Regions from separate parts of the Homo sapiens genome. Here region 1 is linked to region 2. Evidence: promoter capture Hi-C in human tissues and cell types (Jung and others, 2019). All regions are on one chromosome and are shown on one strand. The core of a region is centred on a gene start or on the middle of the fragment in contact, and the rest is flanking DNA. Distances in the headings are between cores, read along the strand shown.

Region 1 (2,700 bases), core at 57-2,556, 360 kb after region 2:
ATGATATAGCCTATCGCTCCTAGGTTACAAATCTCTACAGCTGTACAGGATGCTGAATACTGGAGGCAATTGTAACATAAGTAGTTGCATATCTAAACATATCCAAACATAGAAAAAGTACAGTAAAAAATATGGTGTAAAAGAAAAAAGATGGTACACTCGTACAGGGCACTTAGCATGAATGAAGTTCACAGGACTGGAAGTTGCTCTGGATGAGTTGGTGAGTAGTGAGGGACTACGAGGGCCTAGGGCATTACTGTACACTGCTGTAGGCTTCATAAACACTGTACACCCAGGATACACTAAATTCATAAAAAACTTTCTTCAAAAATAAATTAACCTTAGTTTACTGTAACTTTTTTACTTTATAAACTTTAAAAATTTTAAAAACTTTTTGGCTCTTTTGTAATAACACTTAGCTTTAAACAGAAACACATCGTACACTTTACAAAAATATTTTCTTTCTTTACGTTCTTATTCTATAAGCTTCTTTCCTGTTAAAAATGTGTTGTTGGTTTTTTGAACTTTTTAGTTAAAAATAAAGACACACACACACAAACACACACACACACACACACACACACACACACACATACATTAGTCTAGGCCGACACAGGGTCAGAATCATCAATATCATTGTCTTCCACCTTCACATCTTGTCCCACTGGAAGGTCTTCAGGGGCAGTAACACCCATGGAGCTGTCATCTATGATGATAACGCCTTCTTCATAGCTCCTGAAGGACCTGCCTGAGGCTGTTTTACAGTTAACACTTTCTTAAAAGTCAAAGGAGTACACTCTAAAATAATGACAAAAGTATATTCTAGTAAATACTAGGTGATGGGAATTTTTTAGCTCCATTATAATCTTATGAGACAACCACTGTATATGTGGGCCATCATTGGATGAAACGTCATTATACGGTGCATGAGTGTATGTGACACAGAAATAATCTAAAGAGCCCAGTGCAGTGCTTTATCAGTCAATAGACAAGAGAAATTGACCTTAACATTTTTCATTGAGATATAATTTACATTGACAATGGGCCAATTTTAAGGTACAGTTCAATGTGTTTTGACAAATGTATGTAGCCATATAACCGACGCCACAATGAAAATTATAGAAAATTGCCACCACCTCAAAATATTCTATTGTATCCCATTGCAATTCCCTCCCTACTCCCACTTTCATTTTTTGTAGAATTTTATATGTAGTCATGCGCCATCTGAAGACATTTCAGTCAAGGATGGGCCACCTCTATGACAGATTATAACGGAGCCGAAACATTTCTATCATTTAGTATTTACTATACTGTACTTTTTGTCATTATTTTAGAGTATACTCCTTTTATTTATTAAAAGAAAACACCCACATTCACTGTAAAACAGCCTCGGGCAAGTCCTTCATGAGGCATTCCATAAGAAGGCATTATTATCATACGAGATGACAGGTCCCTGCATGTTTTTGACCCTGAAAATCTTCCAGTGGGATAAGATGTAGAGGTGGAAGACAGAGATATTGATGATCCTAACTCCGTGTTGGCCTAAACTAATGTGTATATTTGTGTTTTTGTCAAAAAAGTAAAAAATAAATAAATAAAAATAGAAAAAACCTTATAGAATAAGAATATAAAGAAAAAATGTTTTCATACAGCTGTACAATGTGTTTGTGTTTAAAGCTAAGTGTTTTTACAAAACAGTCAAAAAGTTAAAAAATATTTTAAGCTTATAAAGTAAAAATGTTGAAGTAAGCTAAAGTTAATTTATTATTGAAGAAAGATTTTTAAAATAAATTTAGTGTAGCCTAAGTGTACAGTGTTCATAAAGTCTACAGTATACTACTGTATACTACATTATACTGTATACTACATATACTGTATACTACAGTATACATATACTACATATACTGTATACTACAGTAATGTCCTAGGCCCTCACATTCACTCATGACTTACTCACTGACTCACCCAGAGCACCTTCCGGTCCTGCAAGCTCCATTCATGGTAAGTACGCTATACAGATGTATTATTATTTTCTTCTTTTACACCACATTTTTACTGTACCTTTTCTATGTTTGGATATGTTTAGATATGCAAATACTTATTATGTTACAATTGCCTCCAGTATTCAGTACGGTAATATGCTGTACAGGCTTGTAACCTAGGAGCAATAGGCTATACTATTTGGCATAGGTGTGTAGTAGGCTGTACCATCTATGTTTGTGTAAGTGCGCTCTGTGGTGTTCCCACAACGACAAAATCATCAGTATGGAATGCACGACTGTAAATGGAATCAAGCAGTGTATAGTTGTTTGTGTCTAGCTTCTTTCACTTGGCACAGTGCTTCTGATAGTCATCCATGATGTTGCCAGTATCAGTAAGTTCCTTTTTTATTGCTGAGAACTATTTCATTATGTGGATACATAAATATTTTGTTTCTCCATTCACCACTTGATAGACATTTGTGTGATTTCTAGTTTTTGGCTATCATGAACAAATTACTATAATTATTTCAGCATAAGTCTTTGTATGAATATGTGTTTTCATTTTTATTGAGTAAGTACGAAAAAGTGGGATTGCTGAGTTGTCTGGTAAGTCTGTGTTTAATTTTACAAGAAACTTCTAAACTACTTTCTAAAATGGCCACACCATTTTGCATTTCCACTAGCTGCATATGAAATTTCCAGTTGCTCAACATCTTTG
Region 2 (2,700 bases), core at 78-2,577:
GGTGGCTGCGTCGAACGGTGGTGGCTCAGAGGAAGAGATTGGGGCCGGCAGCGACCTAGGTACCTCACTCTGGGTGGGACCCAGAGGTTGTAACGTTGTCTATATATACCCTGTAGAACCGAATTTGTGTGGTATCCGTATAGTCACAGATTCGATTCTAGGGGAATATATGGTCGATGCAAAAACTTCACGTTTCTTCGGAATAGCCAGAGACCAAAGTGCGACATGGAGACTAGAAGCAGCCGGCGCTGGTCAGCCGCCTCGTTCTGTTTTATTACCTTGGACTCCAGGAGGATCAGCTGCGCCTGGTGACATAGAGCAGCTTTTCCTCTCCAGAAGCTCCTCACCTTTAAACAGAGTATCCTCTGGGTGCTGAAAAGAAAGAAAGACAGAAAGAGAGAAAGAGAGAGAGAGAGAGAAAGAGAGAATGCAAGCCTAATTGGTTGCATGGATGCAGGGCCAAAGGGCTAGGTTTTGGGGTACTAGGGAGTGAGGTACAAGGCCAGCTTGCCCAGTCCCAGCTCTGCCCTCCAGGAACATGAGGTGCAAAGGTACCCAAATGGGGGCTTGCTTGTATTTGGGGCCTGTGGGAAGAAAGCAAGCTTCAAAGAAGCCCAGTGGGGAGCTCTAGGGTGCATTTTGACAAGGTGGAGGTGCCCTTGCCACCATCCCAGCCCACCCCCAGCTACATGGGCAAGGGCAGCGAGGGCCCCCTGCTATTTTGGCAGGGCCCAGCTTTGGCTGGGAACCCCCGGGCCTGGGCACTGGTAGAAAGCATGGCGGTTACTCATTGCCTAATTTGATTCAAGCTGGCCAGATTCTGGTAACTTTTGGGTGACCCTGATGAAGACAAAGCCAGGACGGCGGCCTTTGTATGGCAGAATCCCTGCTCCCGCCGGCTGCAGGCAGGGCGGGCAGGCAGGAACCCTCCTCGCCTGGGGCACTCTGCCCAACTCAGAGGCGAGTTCACCCACCCACCTTTCATTGCTCTGTACCCCAATAGGAGGATTCATTCTCCCTTGAGCTGTGCCTACTTGGTGTCGGGGGGCGGGGGTTGCATTCAGCTGGGGGTGAGTGGAAGGGCCACGGAAGGTTGGCAAAATCAGTGGCAGACAAAAGCTGGGATTACCTGAGGGGAATGGGGTGCTGGGGACTGGAACTACATTAATATCTGGCAGGGGCTCTCAAATGTGCCATAGCAAGCTACTTGATTACACGTATGTTATTTAGTTAAATTTGTGAAAATTATGAGATGCTCACCAACCCGGTGATAAACTTGCTCCCTCGCCATTGGCTGGCCTGGTCACATGGCTGCCCAACTTTATTCAGTTGACAGCAAGTAGGAGGGCCCTATGGAAGGAGAAAAAAAGACAACACGAGAAAAATTAGTATTTTCTACCTTCTGAAATTAATGGTCATGAGTTCGTATATGGTGAACTCCAAGTATGTGGACCCCAAGTTCCCTCCGTGCGAGGAGTATTTGCAGGGCGGCTACCTAGGCGAGCAGGGCGCCGACTACTACGGCGGCGGCGCGCAGGGCGCAGACTTCCAGCCCCCGGGGCTCTACCCACGGCCCGACTTCGGTGAGCAGCCTTTCGGAGGCAGCGGCCCCGGGCCTGGCTCGGCGCTGCCTGCGCGGGGTCACGGACAAGAGCCAGGCGGCCCCGGCGGTCACTACGCCGCTCCAGGAGAGCCTTGCCCAGCTCCCCCGGCGCCTCCGCCGGCGCCCCTGCCTGGCGCCCGGGCCTACAGTCAGTCCGACCCCAAGCAGCCGCCCTCCGGGACGGCACTCAAGCAGCCGGCCGTGGTCTACCCCTGGATGAAGAAGGTGCACGTGAATTCGGGTAAGGCTAGGGTCCAGTAACCTTTCTGTCCACATCCCAGCCCGTTAGCCTGGGTCCTCTGGAAGGGGGTGCGAGTAGGTGGGGGCGTGTGGAGCTTCCATGGGCGCCGCAATTACTCTCCCCATAAATTTTTATAGCTGAGGGAGCAGGTCAGGACCATGTGGCTGGCTGCTCGGCTGTGGGCGCAAAAGGGGGTGGGGATGGGGGGGTGGGGGAGGACTCCATTTTCAGAGCAGGGGGAAGGCTGTGGAGGAGCGGGGGATTTCCAAAATGCTTGAGGGTTCCGGACCTGGTGGTGGGCCCAGAAGAAGGAGCACATTTGGGGATCCCGCAAGCCTGGGGTATGTGGGTGTGTTTGAGGAGGTGGGTGGGAGTGAGCGTGTGCGCCGGGGAGAGGGCGGGAGGGAGGAAGCAAGCGAGCTTGGGAGCGCGCGGGGAGGGCCGCGGGCCTCGGGGCGCGCCAGGAAGTGAGCGGCGGAGGCGAGGGGCCTAACTAGTGGCCGGGCGCTGACCTGCCTGTCCTGTCTGTTTTGTCTCGCAGTGAACCCCAACTACACCGGTGGGGAACCCAAGCGGTCCCGAACGGCCTACACCCGGCAGCAAGTCCTAGAACTGGAAAAAGAATTTCATTTTAACAGGTATCTGACAAGGCGCCGTCGGATTGAAATCGCTCACACCCTGTGTCTGTCGGAGCGCCAGATCAAGATCTGGTTCCAGAACCGGAGGATGAAGTGGAAAAAAGATCATAAGCTGCCCAACACTAAAGGCAGGTCATCGTCCTCATCTTCCTCCTCATCTTGCTCCTCCTCAGTCGCCCCCAGCCAGCATTTACAGCCGATGGCCAAAGACCACCACA

Evidence for each region. The method cuts DNA at HindIII sites, captures the fragments that hold promoters and counts their contacts. A contact is called where the count stands out against the background at its distance.
Region 1: a contact is called between a fragment that was not itself captured here and the fragment with the promoter of HOXD4 in region 2, in 1 of the 25 tissues and cell types used here (H1 embryonic stem cells).

The regions. Positions count from the first base shown.
Region 1 is chr2:176,513,051-176,515,750 of GRCh38, forward strand. No RefSeq gene overlaps it. Among named protein-coding and RNA genes, the nearest start is that of NRAL, 6.7 kb to the left of the region's middle. The HindIII fragment of the contact is 6,248 bases long and covers 1-2,700 here.
Region 2 is chr2:176,150,223-176,152,922 of GRCh38, forward strand. HOXD4 (homeobox D4) reads left to right here and starts at 1,328. Exons shown (of 2, transcript NM_014621.3): 1 at 1,328-1,844; 2 at 2,386-2,700. The coding sequence starts at 1,412. It overlaps MIR10B (microRNA 10b), which reads left to right and starts at 81; the gene lies at 81-190. It also overlaps a transcript of HOXD3 not described here. RefSeq lists an enhancer at 1,047-1,780. The HindIII fragment of the contact is 6,191 bases long and covers 1-2,700 here.